Linked DNA regions of Homo sapiens: region 1 is linked to region 2. Evidence: promoter capture Hi-C in human tissues and cell types (Jung and others, 2019). All regions are on one chromosome and are shown on one strand. The core of a region is centred on a gene start or on the middle of the fragment in contact, and the rest is flanking DNA. Distances in the headings are between cores, read along the strand shown.

Region 1 (4,034 bases), core at 993-3,492, 41 kb after region 2:
ACGAGGTCAGGAGTTCAAGACCAGCCTGGCCAACATGGTGAAATCCCGTCTGTACTAAAAAATACAAAAAAATTAGCTGGGCTTGGTGGTGGACACCTGTAATCCCAGCTACTCAGGAGGCTGAGGCAGATAATTGCTTGAACCCGGGAGGTGGAGGTTGCAGTGAGCTGAGATCACACCACTGCACTCCAGCCTGGGTGACAAAGTGAGACTCCCATCTCAAAAAAAAAAAAAAAAAAAGCACCCCAGGTTATTGTAGATAACCTGCATGTTAAATGTCAAGTAAAGGCTACAATCTCATTGACATTTCCAACTAGACAGAAGTCATTGAAAGTGTATTTAAGATGAAAAATTTAATGTTAACTTCTTGTTTTTAGGGAGATTACTCTTGGAAATGATATGGAATATGGGGTGTCTTATTATCAGGGTGCAGGTGAGGGGGCCTTTGTTTTAAACTATTTATAAATTTTAAATCTTAGTGTATAAATGTGACAGTGGGACTAGAATACAGGTAAAGAGTCAAAGATATTTACAAGAAAGAAATTAGATATTTTAATAAACTTTTGGATTGTGAGTATAATTCAATGGGAGGGTTTGGGTTTAATTCTCTATTTTCACTCCCAACCACATATACAGTAAATGATTTTAAGGAAGTTCATTTTACTCCACAGCATACAGCAATTCTGACTATTGCATTTTGGTTTTGAATTAAGATAATCCTTTCATGTCCTTCAGATAAACAATTTGCCCACAAGTTTTAATCTTATTATATTCATGCATCTGGATAAAAACAGTGTGGGGAGAGATAAGGAGAGAGAGAAAGAGAAGAGAGTGTGAGAGAGACACAGAGGGAGAGAGAGAGAGAGAGATTTGATCCCAACTAAACGAGATTTATTTTTTTCAGGAGTTCTGAAACAACCTAATACTTAGACATTAATTCTTCTCATTCTGTATACAAATCTCATCTCCACTTTCTGAAAATCTAGACTATATCTTCATAATATAAAATTGTAGTATCACTTGATTTTCAGTCTGAAAGTATCCTTCCATGTATTCATTTATCTCTGAGGAAACTCAGGACCCATGATCTCAGATAGCTTTCCTCAGATAATGTAATTGGTTAATGGTGTAAGACTTTCATCCCCAGGACCATAATTGTGTCATTTTCATCACCATTTTCATCTTTTTTTGTCATTGTCATCATTGTCATCATTGTCATGATCACATATCTAAGACATTCAAATGTATGAACAGAACTGATTTATATTTCTTATTGACGTAGGAATGTTATTATCATCTTTATTCATTCTCTGGTTTCCTGTATGTAGACAAAAGCAGGCAAAAGCTATTCTTGTTTACCACAGTACTATATCAAATCTTAGTTTATGTTCAATTCCTTTATTTTACCACTCAGTTTTAATAATGCATTGCTAACAAATTATGAAGTGATAGCTATGATACCATCTTAAGCATGTAGATGACAGTTAATAAAGTATTTTTATGGTTCTGTTTCAATCAAATAGGCACCTTGAAAATTAAGAAAAAATTAAATATTCAGTTGTAATGTTTCTAATGATTCCAAATATAACTTTTTTCATATAACAAATTATCTGTTTTGAAAGGGAATGGTTATTGTACAAAATCAAAATTGCTGAGAATGAAAGCATTAATAGCAGATGATCTGTAATTCTCTCACTCTATCCTTGATGATGCATGAGGTAGTTTTGATTTAGATTAGACCTTGCAAATGCTCAGATAGAATTTACTAGTTGAAAGACAACCAGCTACTTGGGAGGCTGAGCCATGAGAATAGCTTGAATCCGGGAGGTGGAGGCTGCAGTAAGCTGAGATTGCATCACTGCACTCCAGCCTGGGTGACAGAGCAAGATCCTGTCTCAAAAAAAAAAAAAGAAACTGTTAACATAGGCAGTAGTACAGACGAATCTCAAAATAATTAGGCTGGGTGAAAGAAGCCTAGTCAAAAAGAATACTGCATTATTCTATTCCTATAACATTCTAGAAAATGTGATAGTAAATAGAAATGTAATCTACAGTGACATAAAGCAGGTAAGTGATTCCTGAAGTATAGTGACAGAGGTATAGTAAGCAGGGATACAATGTTGCATTAGGAAACTTTTGGTAGTGCTGGATATGTTCAATATTGTACTTGCAGTGATGATTTCAGCTTTATATAATTCTTAGAAAATATAAAATAAGGCTGGGCACTGTGGTTCACACCTGTAATCCCAGCGCTTTGGGAGGCCAAGGTGGGTAGATCATTTGAGGCCAGGGGTTTGAGACCAGCCTGGGCAACATGGCAAACCCAGTCTTTACTAAAAACAGAAAAATTAGCCGGGTGTGGTAGTGCACGCCTGTAATCCCAGCTACTTCAGAGGCTGAGGCAGGAGAATCACTTGAACCTGGGAGGCGGAGGTTGCAGTTCATGCACGTTGAGATTGTGTCACTGCACTCTAGCCTGGGCAACAGAGCGAGATTCTGTCTCAAAAAAAAAAAAAAAAAGAAAGAAAGAAAATATAAAATATTTTACACGTGTCGAAGCTTATATTGTATACTTTAAATCTATGCAGTTTCTTCCATACCACCTCAATAAAGCTTTTAAAATGTGTATTGACTCAAAATGAATCACTTTGCTGAATAAATACTGCATATAATAAATATGTGCTTTTTGTATATAAGACCCAATGGTTTTATAAAATTGTTATGAAAACAAATCTAGAGTTGTTCCTTATCAACACAATGCCATTAAAACCACTGGTTAATATAAGGTTTATCTCAAAGTCTTTTTCTCAATTCTAGTTCCTTTTCTACATAGCAAATTTATGTTAAGTAATTCTGATCATGGGAAATAATGCAGTCTTCTCCTTGAGCAGCACTAGTGTGGGTCAGCACATTCAATCATTCAGCAAGCTTCCAGCCAGGAAAAGAACAATTTCTTTGTGTAGGTATTTCAACTTGGCTTCAGGAAGGTAATCGAACCACATTTTTTCTTTTCTCTATCCCACTCCTCTCGTTTCTGGTTTTAAGATCAATACTTCCAGCTCTTTGTAAGCATGACATAAATGCATCTACTTCCAGTTGTTGGTGACAGTCTTTAGAATGGCATACAATGCCTTATATTTTGAACGTTTATAGCAATTCATGAGCAATATGAAATTCTCATTTAATATCCAAATTTGCAAGCTACTTTTATTTATTACCAAAATTGTGATTACTAGTATTATCACTGAATGATTCCGAGACTCTTAAATTATTAAAAATGTTTTTTTTTCCATGTTCTACTCCTAGAGTCCTATTTTCCATTTCTTCTGAAAGCTTCATCTTTAGGTATTTCACACCCCACTACCCCTGAAAACAACATTATTGTTTTGATGATTAAAAGAGTAATCCTGCATTGAAACATTGTATTCATTTATAAGGGTCTCACTATTAAAATTAGTTAAAGTATAACTACAGAGAATGTTAAAAAGTCTGCCTGGCTGGGCCCCGTGGCTCACACCTGTAATCCCAGCACTTTGGGAGTCTGAGGCAGGTGGATTGCCTGAGGTCAGGAGTTTGAGACCAGTCTGGCCAACATGGTGAAACCCCGTCTTTACTAAAAATATACACAAAAAATTAGCCGGGCGTGGTGGCTTGCGCCTGTGATCGCAGCTACTCAAGAAGCTGAGGCAGGGGAATTGCTTGAACCAGGGAGGTGGAGGTTGCAGCGAGCCGAGATACCACCACTACACTCCAGCCTGGGTGACAGGGCGAGACTCCATCTTAAAAAAAAAAAAAAAGAAAAGAAAAAAGAAAAAAGAAAAAAAGAAGTCCGCCTATAGTCTGTAATCAGTGAAACTATAAACACTTAATTGGGGATAAATTGAATCCAAATTTGGATTCAACTGTAAAAACGGCAACCCATTTTGGCCTCCTTTTTACTGTGGAGAACTTTTTTTTGCTTATTAAGCTTTCGCTCCAACCTCACCCTTGTGTCCACACTTATTAATTTTCTTGGTTGTGAGACAATGAGCTCG
Region 2 (4,384 bases), core at 1,081-3,580:
GAACATGTAGAGTCTAAAAGTGTTATGACATTATCAATATTTATCTTGAAAATACAGAAGAATTAAAGTTTGAAACTACATTTGAAGTACAACATGATGACATATGTGCCTTTAAGGAACTCATACACAGAATTAAAATTACTTTAGTAAAATTACTTTACTATAAAATCATACACAAGTTGAGTTTTAAATAAATGTATATAATTCCAGACAATTTTGTAAGGAAAATAAATTTTACTTTATTTTTAAGTAGGTCAATAAACAATGCAGTGGAGAAACTTGTATAGAAGTGGAAGAAATGGACTGGGAAAATATAAAATTAACTATAACATAGCATATAAAGAAACTAGGAGAGCAAGGATACTTACAGAGATATTGAGAAATTTCAAAATTTTGCTTAATTGTTTTTTTAAAGTGCTCTTTATTTTTGACCAAAAATTCATTGATTTGCATAAAACACAACTTTGTGGACCACATTTTTGAAGGCTTGTTTTACTTGCTGGTTTCTCAGAGTGTAAATGAAGGGGTTCAGCATGGGGGCAACAGATGTATTGAGAATAGCTATTCCTTTTGTCAATGATGCCTTTTCTTTTGCAGATGGATTAGCATACATGAATATACAGCTTCCATAAGAAATGGAAATGACAATCATGTGAGAAGAACAAGTGGAGAAAGCCTTTTTTCTTTGACTGGCAGACGGGATTCTCAAAATGGTCCTGATAATGTACATGTAAGATAAAATCACTAATGCCAAAGTGAACAGCAAAGTAACCAAAGCAAAGTAAAAACCAATTACTTCTAGGAGCCATGTATCTGAACAAGATAGTTGTAAGAGGGGAAAATAGTCACATGCAAAGTGATCAATGACGTTGGAAGCACAGTAATCCAGCTGGAGGAGAAGCATAAGGGGTGGGAAAATGGTCAGAAACCCACTTAGCCAGGCACACAGCACAAGTAGAGTGCAGAGTTTCCTGTTCATGATGGATGTGTAATGAAGGGGCTTGCAGATGGCAACATAGCGGTCATAGGACATGGCAGTTAAAATGTAAAATTCAGTCACCCCCATGAAGATAAAGAAAAAGAGTTGGGCTGCACAGTTGTTATAGGAAATAGTCTTATTCCTGGTGATAATTGCCCCCAGAAATCTGGGGATGCATACGGTTGTAAATGAGATTTCTAAGAAAGAGAAGTTCCGGAGGAAGAAATACATAGGTGTCTGCAGATGGGAGTCCACAAAGGTTAGGGTGATGATAGTCAGGTTTCCAGTAACACTTAATATATACGTGATAAATAAAAAGAGAAAAATCACAATCTGAAGGTCAGGATCATCAGAAAGGCCCAGGAGGACAAACTCTGTGACCATTGTGTGGTTCATGTCTCGTCCTTTCTCTCTCTCCTTCTTCCACTCTCCTTTTTGTTCTTTTAAAGATATTTTGGTAGAATGATAATTAAGGAAAATAGATAAAAGATATAATTCATCATGATCCATATAATTATCAATACAATTCTAAAAATCTTCTACAGTCTGACAGTTTTGACTATCTTGTTTGCATTATGTTTTAATATTTTTTTCTAAGTCCAGCCTATTTACTAGTTCTCTTACTTTAAATCTAACAGAAATTAGGATATCTTCAGACAATAAGCCACATCACTGAGAAACAGCTAATAAAATGTATAATACCTGCTTTGTGTCCCATTAATGCAAAATATCATTATCTTTTTTGTTGAAACAATCACATGAAACATACATTTTTCTTTTTTTCATCATGTATACATTAAAGGATATTACCACCTAAACATAAAATGGGTGCTCTTAACTTCATCAAAAGATAAAAGTGAAAATTAGAAGATTGTTAATAACCCATTATTCTTTTTATGATATGAGAAACCAATTAAAGATTTTTAGCAAATAAAACATATATTTATATTAAAATAATGTTATTTTATTTATTCATTTTATTTTTAATATTAATATTTTGGTCTAATTGTCAAGATAATAGAACATCTTATATATGATGTATATTTACTATAAGATAGAGTAAATAATGTAATTATTTTACTCAACAAATAGGGAACATGTTCGCTTACTTATTGGTTTGTCTTATAATTCCATCAAAATCTTTAATGTTTGATGTCTTCTATGACTCACAAGAAATGTGTATATATATTCTACATACAGACATTTTAATTTTGAGCTTAAGGGAACATGTGATATTTATCTATTTTTCATTTTGCTCTGAAGCATAAATTGGAAAAGTAACTACTTGCCTTAGATCTCAGCAACTCTCTCACTTGGATTATAGCTTAGTGCATCTTCCATTTGAACATCTTCCTTTCAGAGCTTTACGGAAAAAGTTTTATTTCCTAGTAAATTTTGTCCCACATAAGACCATTCTTCCTTATGCAACCATTCATTCATAAGGATATCCAGAATTGTATAGGAAACCCTCTCACATTCATTCTAACCTAGTCAGTTAATTTTCAGCTATTCAAGAACTGCTGGATGTTCTATTCTATAGATGTTGTCTGCTAAAATCCTGATAGTTGTCTCCTCCATATTTTAGATTGTCAAATTTCTGCTATGATGGATAGAATGTAAAATTATTGCTTCTCTTCTGGACACTACCAAAGTTCACACTAATCAAATTTTATTTTATGTTTTTCTCTATTTTATAATGGTTTAAGGGATATATTTCAGGAAATAAAAATGGAATGCCAGAAACCTTTGGAAGATGTGGAAATACATTATATTCCTCTTCAATAATGTTGAACTAGAAGTTCAAAAAAAATTTATTCCTCTTCAATAATGTTGAGCTAGAAGTTAAAAAAAAATTTAAAGAGAAAATAGGTAAATATATGACACATTGGATATTATGAGTTAGATTCTGGTATCTGGGTTCCCCCTGGTCATACTTATATCTACAATATTTCAAGTTTCTTTGTTTTGACCTCAAAAGATTTGATCTCCTGGGAACAAAGCAAAGTCCAGGCCACATCTCTGCTGTATTATAGACCATGAAAGATTTCTGGAAGTCGCCTTTGGATTTCTCAGTAGCCTCCTAACTCTTATCTGTAGTCGATCTCCCTTGAGAGCAGTTAGGTTCATCTTTTAGCCCACAGAGGACCTCAAATATTGTCTTCTGTGGAATATTTACTTCCATTAACTGCAATTAATATATTATGCATACTTAATATTTCATAAGTAATAAAAATAGCTATGACATCTATTTTCTTACAAAACTAAAGCTCAATCTAATTGATATTTAAGCATCTTTTTGAGATTAAAAAAGTTTTCTACATATCCCATTTTTGTTTTTTATACTTAGGCTTTGTTAAGTGTTAGGGCATCAAGAAGCAAAAGGTTATTTCATAATGCTAAGTAAAGAATAACTATCATAATGCAAGTATTGTGCTCACAAGTTTTTTAAAAATGCTATCAGGTTAACTAATTCAATTATCATTATAAATTGCAATATTTAATTGCAGTGTCAATTTGTCCATCTTATTGTTTATCTTGGCCTTTACATCTGTTATCCCTTCAACATTCTAATAAAAAGACCCACAAAATATGATTTTATTTATGTGAAATTCTGGTTTGTGAATTATAACTAATTATTCTCTTTAGTGTTCTTTTTATGTTTCCCAAATATTTTGGCAAAAAAAAGTGTAATCAGATAAGCCATTTATTTAACATATAATTTATTTAAACTAATAGTGCATATTATATAATACAGATTAACACAAAATAAGCATTATGTTTTAATAAAATTATGAAATATGTATTTAATGTATAAAAATACAATAAATTTATACAATCAAATAATGTTTTATTTTTTCTTTTCCAGCTTTATTGGGGTATAATTTAGAAATCAAAAATAGTATATACTTAAGATGTATTTTACTCTTATAAAGGAGCATTTAATAAAGGAACATTTTGGCAGATATGTTTCCATATCATAGGGAGTGTTACCCTTAATCACTTAATTTTTGTTGATCACTTTTCTGGCTATTATAAAAATGATGTTATGTTTTCATTATAACAGCTCAATTAATAAGCAGGAAATTCTATCATTATTCATGGAGGGAAAAGTGCAATAATGCCTTGCTTGATTGCATCCTTGTCATATTGATATCCTGTTGTTGCTATTTAGATGTAAAGGCTTAATTGAGGTTTAGGTTTAGGTTTTTTTTTCCTTTCAAAACTAATCCAAAAAGGAATTTTATACTTTCAACAGAGATACATGTTTAATTGATTAAAAAAATAATTAGCAGCTATTGGTGTAACCGCCCAATGGGTTCACCTTGCTGCTGCCTAGACAGAGCCGATTTATCAAGACAGGAGAACTGCAATAGAGAAAGAATGAATCCTGTAATTCATGCAGAG

Evidence for each region. Contacts are between HindIII fragments. The study calls those that stand out against the background at their distance.
Region 1: a contact is called between a fragment that was not itself captured here and the fragment with the promoter of OR6C3 in region 2, in 9 of the 25 tissues and cell types used here (H1 embryonic stem cells, adrenal gland, heart left ventricle and 6 more).

Annotation. Positions count from the first base shown.
Region 1 is chr12:55,288,052-55,292,085 of GRCh38, reverse strand. No RefSeq gene overlaps it. Among named protein-coding and RNA genes, the nearest start is that of OR6C6, 6.5 kb to the left of the region's middle. The HindIII fragment of the contact is 6,606 bases long and covers 1-4,034 here.
Region 2 is chr12:55,328,692-55,333,075 of GRCh38, reverse strand. OR6C3 (olfactory receptor family 6 subfamily C member 3) reads right to left here and starts at 2,330. Exons shown (of 2, transcript NM_001388498.1): 1 at 2,269-2,330; 2 at 440-1,419. The coding sequence starts at 1,375. The coding sequence ends at 440. The HindIII fragment of the contact is 15,026 bases long and covers 1-4,384 here.